Linked DNA regions of Homo sapiens: all the other regions are linked to region 2. The links are contacts of gene promoters, found by promoter capture Hi-C in blood cells and fetal thymus (Javierre and others, 2016). All regions are on one chromosome and are shown on one strand. The core of a region is centred on a gene start or on the middle of the fragment in contact, and the rest is flanking DNA. Distances in the headings are between cores, read along the strand shown. Region 1 holds the start of LRP4 (LDL receptor related protein 4). Region 2 holds the start of C1QTNF4 (C1q and TNF related 4). Region 3 overlaps PTPRJ (protein tyrosine phosphatase receptor type J).

Region 1 (4,479 bases), core at 87-2,586, 680 kb after region 2:
TTGTTGTTGCTGTCGCAAAGTATGGTTCATGTTAGCTTTGGTAAAAGATGGTAATTTGAAGTGAAAGTACTGAAAAAAACAAGCAAGGATGAAATGTCAATGTATCCATTTAGAGAAATCTAATAACCACTTTGCACTATGCCAAATTACTTTCCCCTCAGCTAACAGGGGGCATTTGGGTCTTCCTGACTCTATTTACTGGTGAGGAAAGTGAGTTAATGAAATCCATAGATGATCCAAGCCCAAGAAATGCTGGCATATCAGCTGGGAGGGAAAAAAGCGATATACTGGGCCATCAGAAAGTTGGGCATTTGGGCAAAAGGAACAAAACAAGATTCAACCTGGAAAAATGGAAGGTGGTGAAATTAATCCGTATTATTAATATGCATTAGGGAGAGTAGACCACAAAAGGAAGGAAGACTAGAGACAAGTTTATGATTTTATGCAGTAAATCAAAAGTTAAATCTGAGGGAAGGACCTACAGACTGGGGCTGGAAGGAGGCTGAGGGCTTTGTGGGAGTGCAGCTGCCCATGAGGACTCCTTTCCTGACCCCCTCCCTTCCTTGTCAGGATCAGAAAGTCAAAGAAGGTGAAGAGGCTAACAACAGTGATTTACAAAGACAGCAAGGAGGAACTAAGTCTGTATGGGCCGAATCTGGGCCTCTGAGCTGGAGCAACAGGACCCAGACAACCATCTCAGGAAATGAGTGAATGAAAAGGGGCGGGGGGGTCGGTGAATTATTTAGCCCTAGAACAACGCTGCCTAGACCGGGGGAGGCCAGGGAGAAGAAAATCTCCGAAAAGGAATTTTGACAGTGAGAACGCCAGTTAAGATACAGCACTCCAGGCCCCCTGATGTCCCTTGTTTGATGTCAATAAAGACCCAAGAGGATTATGCATCCACAAGCCTTGCGTATTCGCAGACATCAAAAAAGTCTGGACTTGGGGCCGGTAGGCGGGGGCAGGGTCACGTCCAGGCGACTTGGGTCAGCTCAGGTGCTCGTCTGAAGCATAGAGCTGGAGTGAGCGGGGGCGAGACTTGCTGCTAGGATAATTTTTTTTTTTTAAGTTAGGGAAATTTAAGCAGTAGTAATAGCGACAGGGAGGGGGCTCTCTCTCGGGCCAGGAATGTGGGGGCGGCCTGAGGAGGAGCGGGGCCCCGCGCAGGAGGCGCCGGCGGGTGGGGTCGGGGGACCAGGGAGCCGGGGCCGAGGGCGGGAAGGGGCCGGGCCGGCGCTGGGGGCGGGCCCAGGCGCGGTGGCGGTGGCCGGGGCTGCGGCGCGGGGGGCGGGGCGGTCGGGCCCGGGACACCCCCTCCCGGTCCCCTGGCGGGGCAGCGTCGGCTCTGGCAGCACTGGAGGCGGCGGCGGCCCGAGGGCGACTTGCGGGGCGCGCAGGCCGCCGTGCACCCGGGACGCTTCCCCCTCGGGGACCCTCCGCGGGCTTCTCCGCCGCGCCGTCCGGCGGGAGCCGGCGGGACCCCGGGCGAGCGGCGCGGGCGGCACCATGAGGCGGCAGTGGGGCGCGCTGCTGCTTGGCGCCCTGCTCTGCGCACACGGTAAGCGGCGCCCGCCGGGAAAGTTTGTCCCTGGGTCCGGCCGCTGCAGGACTCGCCTCCCGGGACCTGGACGGCGCGGGCCGGGGCCTGAGACCCCTCGCCCTCGCTCCTAGCCGTGGCCCTGGGGCTGCGTGCAGGGGAGAGGACCCGGAGCGGCCCCGGCTCCAGCAGTCCGAGCGGGGGCATCAGCGGAGGCGCTTCCGCGGGTTCGGGTCTGGGCCGGGGCGCGGGTCTGGGCCGGGGCGCGGGTAAGGTCCGGGGCGTTCGTTCGCTCGCCCTCCCTCGCTGCTCTTTCAAGAGCGGGGGCTGCTTCCCTTTCAGGTTAGGTCGGGGGCTCTGTGTCCTTGGTGCGAATGAATGCGTGCGAAGAAAGGGAGGCGGGTGAGGAGGGTCGCTAAACCCATAAATTGTAAATAGCCCTCCTTCCTGGGGCTGGGGGCTCGGGCGGGTTGCGGAGAGAGGCCCCGGTAGAATCTGGTACTTGGGCACCGGGATTCCTCTACTCGGAGAACGATTCCCGGACTCCAGGTCTTGCTCCCACCAAGGGGCTCTGGGGCACTGTTTGCGGGCAGCATCTCCCCTCGGCGGTGTTTCGGGGTCCCTCTCTTGGCTGCGGCCAGTCAGCTTCCAGCCCTGGATCGTCCTAAAGGGAGGTGGTTGGAAAGGGGGCTGAGGAGGAATATAGGGAAGAAACTGCTGGAAGGCTCCCGCAGATCTGCCCTGGCTGGGGTAGGGGGGCAGGGGGCCGGTAACCCTGAACCCCAGAAGGCAGCCGCCGGGCCCTCGCGGCAGGGTCCCAGCCCTCGGGGGAGCTGGACGGCTGCAGCAGGACTCCTTGGTGCCCGTACCCCCTGTTGTGTGGGACTAGGGCTCCGATGGAATCTGCTTCTCCGCGGGCTCTTAACGACCCTGGGTGCACCCCGTGATTGAGCAGCTTTCCCTAGTTTGTGCCCAGAGATCAAAGAACTTTGATCTTTGAACCCCAGCCCTATTCACCCATCGCTATTCATCGTGGCGGGAGTTCCGAGTCTCCCCATTTGCCTCGCAGCCCCGATGAAGGGAGCTGGGGCTCAGAATGGAGGGGTCTGGAGACCCTGCCTGGTCTTTTACCGGTTCTTTCTTTCACGTAGGACAGCTCGTGTGGAAAAAGTCAGTGCAGATTTCCGAACTTGCCTGGCAGGGCGTGGAGATGTCTAGGCACTCGTTTTAAAGATTGGTTTACCTCCCAAATCCAAAACAGAGTTTTCATGTCTCTTATTTAAACTACCTGTGGGTTTTCAGGGGCTTTTTTCCGCGTCCTCTCTAGCGCGGACTGAGCTCTTTCTCTCCGAAGAGCGGTAGCTTGGCCGGCCCACGTTCCGCTCCGCTCTGCGCTCTCCCCTCCCCGGCTCTCTCCTGGAAGGTTATTTGTAGCCTCTTTGGCGTGTTGGGACAGCGGCCCTACTGGGGTAGGAATGTAGCTGTTCTTCCCACCACATGGGCCCCTTAAAGGGACAGCTTTGCTTTTTGGGGGGTTTCCCCCTTCGGGTTGCAAGGAAAGGGGATGGAACTTTCCTCTCAGCCCCCTGGAGGAAGTTTTGAAAAAGATCAAGGGAAATGGCAAGGCACTGGGAAAAAAAAAAAAAATTAGGGTTAAAACGGATACCAACAAAGCCAGAGAGGAGATTGTCGCCTTCTGCCCTAGGGAAGGGGGAGCTGGAAGGTTCCGGGCTGAGACTGGCCAAGAAGATTTTACTGCTCCAGAGCTGTCAACGCTGCAAATATTACATGTGCATAGAGGATGGGGGTGAGAATGGGGGGAGAGAATTGCGTATGTCTAATGTTTCACAGAAAAAGAATGGGAGGATTCGCGGTAACGCTTTTAGGTTTCTTTCTCTTTTTTTTCTTGGAGAGGGTGTCTCACTCTGTTGCCCAGGCTGGAATGCAGTGGGGCAATCATAGCTCACTACAGCCTCGACCTCCCAAGCTCAAGTGATCTTGTCATCTCAGCCTCCTGAGTAACTGGGACTACAGGCATGCACCACCATACCCTACAAATTTTTGTTTTTTTTTCTAGAGATGGGGTTTCACCATGTTGCCAAGGCTAGTCTCCAACTCCTGGGCTCAAGTGATCCACCTGCCTCGGCCTCCCAAAGTGCTGGTATTACAGGTGTGAGCCACTGTGTCCGGCCCAGGTTTCTTTTTAAGGAAAAAAGTTTAATAGAAACGTCTAAGCATGGGAAGCTTTCTGTGCACATGTTTGTAAGGGTAGGCAGTGGGGTGAAGGTATACACATCACCTGGCCTGATACTGAGCCATCCTTGGAGGTCTGGGGGGTCAGATTCACAGTTCACCAGTAAGATTGAGCAGTTTCAGAGCCTGGAACCAGCACAACCAAAAATACCACCAAAACATCTTTTGGACTGACACTCAATTCCAGGGGCTCAGGGAGACAGCAGTTGTGATAAATGTAGTAGTAGATCCATTAGGCAGACCTGACCTCAGCAAGGCATGAATTAAAGACACTAAAGTTTAAGGTGATTTTGGGAGGCTGAGACTAGCGGATCACTTCAGGTCAGGAGTTCAAGACCAGCCTGGCCAACATGGCAAAACCCCATCTCTACTAAAAATACAAAAATTAGCCAGGCACAGTGGCACATGCCTGTAGTCCCAGCTACTCGAATGGATGAGGCAGGAGAATTGCTTGAACCTGGGAGGCAGAAGTTGCAATGAGCCAAGATCACTCCCCTGCACTCTAGCCGGGGCGACAGAGTGAGACTCTATCTTAATAAATAAATAAAGTTTAAGGTGCTTATTTGGATGCTGCTAGTCCTTGGGGCTTTTCCTAGAGCCTATTGGTTTGGACTCAGCCCACATAACTCTCCAACCTTAAAGATTTTGGAAGGAAACTTGATGGCTGGTAATAGCCCTGAGTGATTTTC
Region 2 (4,212 bases), core at 1,507-4,006:
TACCTGTAATCCCAGCTACTCAGGAGGCTGAGGCAGGAGAATCACTTGAACCTGGGAGCGGGAGGTTGCGGTGAGCCAAGATTGCTCCATTGCACGCCAGCCTGGGCAACAAGAGCAAAACTCCATCTCAAGAAAAGAAAAAAGAACCCGTCTCAATTTATATATATTTTAATGTTAATTTTTTTAACTTTTTTTTTAAGTGATGGGGACAGCTGGGCGCGGTGGCTCACGCCTGTAATCCCAGCACTTTGAGAGGCCAAGGCGGGCGGATCACGAGGTCAGGAGTTCCAAGACCAGCCTGACCAACATGGTGAAACCCCGTCTCTACTAAAAATACAAAATATTAGTCGGACATGGTGGCGCGCTCCTGTAATCCCAGGTACTCAGGAGGCTGAGGCAGGAGAATCGCTTGAACCCGGGAGGCGGAGGTTGCAGTGAGCCAAGATCGCAGCATTGCACTCCAGCCTGGGCAACAGAGCGAGAGTCTGTCTCAGAAAAAAAAAAAAAAAAGAGAGAGAGAGATGGGGTCTCACTCTGTTGCCCAGAGTGGTCTCAAACTTCTGAGCTCAAGCGATCTTCCCACCTTGGCCTCCCAAAGTGCTAATATCATAGGCGTAAGCCACCATGCCCAGCCATACCCGTCTCAATTAAAAAATAAATAAAATAATTGTTGTTTAAGACCAGCCTGGGCAACAGAGTGAGACCTCGTCTCTACAAAAAATTTTAAAAAAAATTAGCCAGGCATGGTGACCTGCACCTGTAGTCCCAGCTACCTGGGAGGCTGAGGTGGGAGAATCACTTGAGCCCGCAAGGTCAAAGCTGCAGTGAGCCAAGATCATACCATTGCACTCCAGCCCAGGTGACACAGCAAGACCCTCTCTCAAAAATAAATAAAATTGTGGCTGCAAAACAAGAGAGGAGGGAGCAGGGACTATAACCAGCCTAGGGCTTTTCTCTGGATCCTGCTGCCACCTCTTCTTAACTCCCATTCTGGAGCCCACCCATCTGCCTTACACCCACCAGCTCATGGCATCATCTTTCTCTATATCCCTTTCCCAGTGGCTTCCTCCCTATCCCAGTCCCCTGATGCAAATCCTGATGTCATCTGCCCCAGCCACCCATCTCTACCTCAACCCTCACTTCTCTGGTGAGAACTCTTGTGGATCCAGGGAGTGTCAAATCCCAGCCTGAACCAAACCTCAACTGAGATTATATTATCCTATAATATACCTTCTCCCCTCCCCTCCCCTCCCACCATTGGAATCACCCTCAGGAGAGCAGCTCCACTCTTCTCATCCAGAAGGGGCCCATGGCCCTAAGAAGGGCCATAGATTGCCATAGGTTGGCTTTTGGCATCCCCCAGCTCTCCTTCGACATCCCTGTGTGGCTCATCCCACCCTTACCCTGCTTCTTGTCCTCCCCACAGTCCTGTGGCCCAAGCTTTTCAAGTTGGTGAAAGAGACAGTTGTGATCTGACAAGGGCTAGACAGGTGCTTCACCCTCTGTCACCAAATACCCTCATTATCCAGCCCAAAACACCTCCATTCATTCCTTTCTATTCTGGCACATATTCGTTAATTCATTCCATCATTCACCTAACACCCTTGAAGCAGAGCCAATCACCTCTACCAACATCTTCCTAGAGACAAATAGATTAACTGGGGTGGGGTAAACTTTGAGAGCTCCAAAAGGAAAGCTCCAGAGGACGGGGGTTCTGCAGGGGTCCAGGCCTCTCAGGGACCACAGAGCAGACCTGCAGCAGAGGCAGAATTAGAGCCCATGGCTCTGGAGTCAACCAGGGCCAGGCAGAGGGCACCAGCTCTTGGCTGCTGAAAGTAGAGCTCTTCAAAAGTCATCCACTCAGTCAGCATCTACTGAGTGCCAGGCAGTGTCGTCACCTCTACAGCCGTCAGGGGAGAGAACAGCAGCCTAGAGAAAGGGAGTCTGAGCCCCCATCCCACGGGCTCGAAGCCCAGAGTAGAGGCCAGCACTAGTGCCTCTGGTGAGTATTACCATGGGAAGACCGCTGTTCCCAGCCCGGGTGCCCTGCTGGACTCTTGCTAGCCTGGCCCCAGCGAGGCAGGGCATCAGTTTCCCTCTCCAGAGGCCTTTCTTCCCCACCTATTGCCCTCTCAATCCTGTCCCTTCTTGCAGGAGCAACCTTCCCAGCAGAAAATTCCATTCTGCCCCAAGGACTCTCCTCCTTACTGCCCCTCACCCCGGGGAACGCAGGCTGCCCCTCTGATGCCTGCAGACTCCCTTCTCCCTCTTTCCTAACCGACCGTGGGCATTTTCCAATTTGGAGGTGAGGAGGAAAAACTAGGTTATTTTCAGCTCTTCCTTTACTGGCAACATTGACCCATTTATCCTTCTCTTCCTTCAGACCTCTCCCCCAAGGCCACTTAGCTTGGACATCTGTCCCAGCCAAAATCTCACCTTCCACTGTCCTTGCAGCCCAAAGGCTAGTCCAGCCTCTGAGTCCAGCTCTAGCCCTCTCTCCCCACACTAGGAAGGAAGCTGGACTGTAGAGCGCTCTGGGCCACCCCGCGTTAGCTGCTGCCTCTGGCCTCAGTTTCCCCAACTGCTCAGATTAATGATGCCTGCTCTCTAGACCCAGAGGACGAAGCTCTAAGGAGGTCACAGATGAGGAAGGGTCCAGTGCTCGGCGCAGACTCCGTGCGGAGCCCCTAGGCCCCGCAGCTCGCCCCTCCCTCTCCCCTACTCCCCTCCTCTCCCCCTCCCGTCTCTCCCCCGCCTCTTCGCTCTCGCTCGGCTCCCTCTCTAGCTGACCTTCCCTTTCCCTCACGCCTCCCCACGCCCGGCCCCTGGCCCCAGCACCCTGTCCGCTGCCGCCTCAGAGCCGGGAAAAGCAGCCGGAGCCCCCGCCGCCCCTGCCGCAGCGCGGGCGGTCAGCGCGCAGCCCGGCACCCGCAGCCTGCAGCCTGCAGCCCGCAGCCCGCAGCCCGGAGCCAGATCGCGGGCTCAGACCGAACCCGACTCGACCGCCGCCCCCAGCCAGGTGAGGGCAGCTGAGGGGAGGCAGGGAGCCGAGGTTCCCCCTTTACTGGAAGCGAGGGCTGGGGAGGCGCGGGGAAATTGGGTCCTTTTTCCTTGAAAGGAGGACCTGGGAGCCTTTTCGTGAAACAGGCACAAGGGCTTTCATTCCAAAGGGATGGATGGATGGAGGGAAGGTCTCGGGGGAGAGGGATTGGTTTTTGTTTTTTAAAAATAAGGATTAATTGGCTTCTGTGAAAGTGGGACTTCTTGGAAGGATGAGGGGCTTTCAAGGTAGGTTGGGGAGGGGGCTCTGGCAGGGCTTGAGGGAAGGGTTAACTGGTGAGTGGCAGGGCAAGGGGGAACTCTGCGATCCCCTCAGCCTGACATCGCTGCACCTCCCGCCTTGGCTCCGGGGCTCTGGGTCTCTCCAGCTCTGTGTCCCAGTTTTTCTCTTTGAAGATGACTATTTTGAACCCCACCTGGACAGAGCCAGGAACAGCCATTTCCTTCCCTGGAGCTATGACACCCACCTGACACACCCTCCCACACCTCTGACCTGCTCAGGGAAGGGGGTTCAGGGAAGGACGAGGATCCAGGGATCTGGGAATTGGGCAGTGTGGGTGAAACGGAGGCTGGGTACTGGGTGCACAGGAAGACCCTTGGCACTGGTGGGGTGCACCAGCCTTGGTCAGGAGGTTGCTGGGCAGCTGCTTCTGGGGCAGGACCCACTAGGAAAGCAGCGGTATGGAAAAGCTGAGCTGTTTTCCGTGTTCCCAGAAGACAAAACACTAGAGAATGTGTTTGCTTGCTTTTGTTTGGTTTTGCTTTCTGTCTTCCTCACCCTGGATCCCAAGACTCATTCCTCTGATCTCCTCTCCTAGTTTTGCAAAAAGGTAAACTGAGGCACAGAACAAATTGGCTGGACATACCTGTGTCTAGGAGGGAAGAGTGACAGGAAGGCATACGGAATTTGAGTCAAAAAACCTCAGTGCTCCATGGGTGACCTTGGGCCAAAATGCTTTCCCTTGTTGGGCCTCAGCTTTCTCATCTATAAAATGGGAGACGGCCCACCTGTCTTGTAGGTTTGCCAAGACCATGTGTCTAAAAGAACTTTGTAAAAGGGAATGCACTGGACACTTGTGAGGTGCCATCTTCACCACTGTGGATGGCCCCTTCCCTCCTCCCTGTCCTAACCAAGGGACACCTAACTAATCC
Region 3 (4,598 bases), core at 461-2,960, 520 kb before region 2:
TGTCCATTGCTGGAAGTAAGGTGGTGGAAGTCCTCTACTATGAATGCATTGCAGTCAATCTGTCCATTCAGATCCATTAATATTTGCTTTATATATTTAGGCATTCCAATGCTGGGTGCATATATATTTATAATTGTTAAGACCTCTTGATGAATTGATCCCTTTATCATTATAAAATGATGTTTGTTGTCTCCATTAAAAGTTTTGAACTTAAAGTCTATTTTATCTGACATAAGTATAGCTACTCCTGCCACTCTTTAGATTTCCATTAGCATGGAGTATCTTTTTCCATCCCTTCACTTTCAGTCTAGGCATGTCCTTGCAGGTGAGGTGAGTCTCTTGTAGACAGCATACTATTGAGATCGGTTTTTTTTTTTAACCCATTCACGCACTCTATGTCTTTTGATTGGAGAATTTAAACCCTTTACTTTCAAGGTTATTATTGATAGGTAAGAACTTACTACTGCCATTTGGTTGTTTTATAGACTCTTTGTTCCTTCCGTCCTCTCTTACTATCTTCCTTTGAGGTTAAGTGATATTCTCTAGTAGTATGTTTTGATTCCTTGCTTTTTATTTTTTGTGTATCTACTAAAGGTTCTTCTTTGTGGTTACCATGAGGCTTATAAAAAGAATCTTATAGTTATAACAGGTTATTTTATGCTGATGACAACTTTGATCACACACACAAATTGACCTCTACACTTCTAGTCCATTCCCCACTCATATTATGAATTGTTTATGTCACCATTTACATCTTTTTATATTGCATATCCCCCCTGCAAGTTATTGTAGTTATTATTTTTTAAGTATTATCTTTTAACTTTCATATTAAAGATATGTATGACCATTACAGTATTCATGTATTCTGAATTTGACTGTGTATTTATTTTACTAGTCTTATCCTTTCATATGTTTTCAATTAATCACTAGTGTCCTTTTCTTTCAGCTTAAAAACTCTCTTTAGCATTTCTTATAAGACATGTCTAGTGGTGATGAACTCCCTCAGCTTTTGTTTCTCTGGTAAAGTCTTTTATCTTGCCTTCATTTTTGATGGCCAGTTCTGCTGGGTATAGCAATCTTGGTTGGCAGGTTGTTTTCCCTCAGCATGGTGAATATATCATCCCACTCTCTCCTGGCCTGTAAGTTTCTGCTGAGAAGTCTGCTGCTAGCTGAAGTGGAGCTCCCTTACATGTTATTTGCTTCTTTTCTCTTTTTGCTTTCCAAATCCCCATTGTCTGTGATGTTTGACAGTGTGATTATGTTCTGGAGTAGTCTTGTTTGAATTGACTCTGATTGGAGTCATTTGTCCTTCCTGTACCTGGATATTTATATCTTTCTCCAGGTTTGGAGAGTTTTCTGCTACTATTTCTTTAAATAAGCTTTCTACCTCTTTATCTTTCTCTTCCCCTAGATGAACTCCAATTCAAATACCACGTCTTTTGATGCTGTTGCATAAATCCTATAGGCATTCTTCATTCCTTTTTATCCACTTTTTTATTTTTCCTCCTCTGTATATTTTCAAATAATCTGTCTTCAAGTTCAAGGATTATTTCTTCTACTTGATCAGTTCTACTCTTGGTGCTCTCTATTACATTTTTCATTTTGTTCAAAGTATTTTTTAGCTTCAGAATTTCTGTTTGCTTCTCTGTTAAATATCTCAATCTAGTCACTTATTGTTTTCCTCATTTCTTTGAATTCTTTATCTGTATTTTCTTAAAGTTTGCTAGGCTTCCTTAAAACATGTATTTTGAATTCTCTGTCAGACAGTTCATACATCTCCCATCTCTTTATGGTCAACCACTTGCACTTTATTTTGTTTCTCTGGTAATATCACGTTTCCCTGATTATTCTTGATCCTTGTGACTCTGTGTTGATGTCTGTATATTTGAAGAAGTAGGTTCTTATTCCAATCATTGTAGATTGGCTTCCTCTGGAAATGCCCTTCAACAGTAAGCCTGTCCAGTGATTTCTGGGAAGACCATCTGGTATGGTCCCAACCTCTAAGCCCAAATTTTTGTAACAATAATTAACATAAGCTTGCTAGGAATTTTTCTTTTTTTTTTTTTTTTTTTTTTTTTTTTTGAGACAGAGTCTCACTCTGTCGGGAGTGCAGTGGCACCATCTCCACTCACTGCAACCTCTGCCTCCTGGGTTCAAGCAATTCTCCTGCCTCAGCCTCCCGAGTAGCTGGGATTACAGGCATGCATGACCACACCCGGCTAATTTTTGTATTTTTAACAGAGACGGGGTTTTGCCATGTTGGCCAGGCTGGCCTTGAACTCCTGACCTCAGGTGATCACCCACCTTAGCCTCCCAAAGTGCTGTGATTACAGGCATGAGCCACTGTGCCCAGCCCCTTAGGAATTTCTAAAAGTTTCTCATATTACCCTAGAAATAATTCAATGACTTATTTTAACTGTGTATGTGATTTTATCAATACTTCTAGAACTAACAAAACTATTGTATCACAATGTTTTTTATGAAAAATTATAAATAAATAATCTACCTTCCCAACAACAGGGGAGCAGTTAAATAATTTACAATGCTTTTAGACAAGTAATTCTTAAACACTGTGGTCTCAGGGCCCTTTTAACTTCTTAAAAATTATTAAGGCTCCCGGAGAATTTTTGTTTATATGGGTTATATTGATTAATATTTACCATACTGTATTAGAAATAAAAAAGATAAAGTTTTTTAAACAATATGAAAGCATACATTCCATTAGCTGTAAGAGTGACAGTGTCATCCCAAATCATATAGAATCTGCAAGACTCCACTGTACACTCATGATAAAATGAGAGTAAAGAAGCCAAATAACATGTTAGTAGTATTATGAAAACAATACCCAGAAATACCTTGAAAGAATCTAGGAGACCCCTAGAGATCTCTGAACCACAGTTTTAGAATCAATTATCTAACCCAGGTATCAGCAATGTTTTTCTGTAAGGGCCACAGAATAAATATTTCAGGCTTTACAAGCCACAAATTCTCCATTGCCACTACTCAATTCTAGCATGAAAGCAGCCATAGGCAGACTCAATAAAACTTTACTTACAAAAACAGAAAGTGATCTATATTTGGCCCAAGGACCATTATTATCTGCCAACCCTGATTTAGAAAATAGAATGCCAGGCAGGTATTAAAACTGTCCTGTAGAAATGTATATACTAACAGGGAAGAATATTTGTAATATATTGGTGAGAAGCTACATGTAAAGGATGACCTTGATATTTGTAAAACAAAATAAAACATATATATGTATATACATATGCACACAGGCATGCATATATCTTAAAATTATAAAACTCGTATATCAAGTGATCAATGGTTATCTCCAGTTAATGATTTACTTGTTATTCTTTTCTTGTCTATGTTTTATATAATGAATATGCATTACTATCTTTATAAAAATTTTTAAAAAGATTTTCTTAGGTAATTAAAAGAAGAACAGTATTTGGAAAACATGACATTTATAAATTCTACCGATTTCCTTTAAGAAACATGACTGGCAGAAAAGCCTATGCTTACCAGTGCTACTGGGAGTTTTTTGAGATGCCCCATCAGTCCCATTAGATCCTTGTTCAGGTGTTCTTAAACTATCGTTGGCTCCAGAGCTTTCACCATCCTCACTGGTGTTTGTTTCCACCTGAGGTGTTCCAGTTCCATTCTGTTTATGAAAGGATTCTGCTGTACTGCTGATCTGCGTTATGCCATTTTCCCCTGTGGCAACAGTTGCTACTGAAGGGTCAGGAATTGGACTAGGGGCTATGCAAAGAAAGTAAACAATTAGATTAAAAATATATTTCTCCAGGAGACAGGGATGCCCCACCTCACAAAATATTTACACTGAAATGAAATGCACACTTGGAAAAACTGATCCCTCTCTTTCTCTTCTTTGTATCATCACCTACAACATGAGCCCCTCAGAAACTGCCATTTCTGGCCACATGGAGAGTACCTGGCCACGAGAGTGCAGAAGCTCCATGCTTACACTGCACACAGTCATTCACAGGAAAGGAGAGGAGGCGTGAGCTCCTATGGCCAAGAGCTCAGGCACTGAAGGAGAACCTTGGCCACACTGGCTGCTTTATCTTGAATTCATTACTAGTCTCCTAGAGTCTCTGTTCAGGGAGGTGCAGCAGAGACCACTCTTGACCCCCAAACTCCATTCCCCCATTTTCCCTTCATCATACTCCTGGAGATTTTTGGCCCTGTATATGCATAGCTGTTGGGAACAAAGACCACATTTCCCAGCCTCCCATGCAGCTAGATGTTGCATGTGACTAACTTCTGTCAAACAGAGTGTGACCAGACGTTCTGTCTGACTTCTAGCAAGTGTCCTTAAAGGGTGGAGCACAACCTTCTGCCCTTCCTCCTTCTTATAGCTGTAGTGTGGATGCGATGACTGGATCTCATGCTGCCTGGCTCTAGAACCAACACTGTGGCAGTGGCTGCAGCTTCCTGATCCCAGGATCACAGCTCAGAACATTCACCGCTGGATCCAGCAACTACAGCAGGGACTTCCTGATTCCTCCCTCTCTGCTTGCTGTCTATGACCAAGGTGGTGACTCTCTAGGGGGTCAGTTCTGCAGCCTTAG

The links. The method cuts DNA at HindIII sites, captures the fragments that hold promoters and counts their contacts. A CHiCAGO score of 5 or more calls a contact.
Region 1: the fragment with the promoter of LRP4 here is called in contact with the fragment with the promoter of C1QTNF4 in region 2 in 1 of 17 cell types (non-activated CD4 T cells); the score reaches 5.2 in non-activated CD4 T cells.
Region 3: a contact is called between a fragment that was not itself captured here and the fragment with the promoter of C1QTNF4 in region 2, in 2 of 17 cell types (naive B cells and total B cells). The highest score is 6.7, in naive B cells.

What each region holds. Positions count from the first base shown.
Region 1 is chr11:46,915,407-46,919,885 of GRCh38, reverse strand. LRP4 (LDL receptor related protein 4) reads left to right here and starts at 1,336. Exons shown (of 38, transcript NM_002334.4): 1 at 1,336-1,558. The coding sequence starts at 1,507. RefSeq lists enhancers at 607-1,111, 2,275-3,146 and silencers at 1,172-1,401, 1,412-1,591, 1,602-1,771. The HindIII fragment of the contact is 10,743 bases long and covers 1-3,783 here.
Region 2 is chr11:47,592,955-47,597,166 of GRCh38, reverse strand. It overlaps C1QTNF4 (C1q and TNF related 4), which reads left to right and starts at 2,756. Exons shown (of 2, transcript NM_031909.3): 1 at 2,756-3,019. The HindIII fragment of the contact is 4,016 bases long and covers 1,443-4,212 here.
Region 3 is chr11:48,111,914-48,116,511 of GRCh38, reverse strand. PTPRJ (protein tyrosine phosphatase receptor type J) reads right to left here. Exons shown (of 25, transcript NM_002843.4): 3 at 3,529-3,765. Among named protein-coding and RNA genes, the nearest start is that of MIR3161, 17 kb to the right of the region's middle. The HindIII fragment of the contact is 657 bases long and covers 1,382-2,038 here.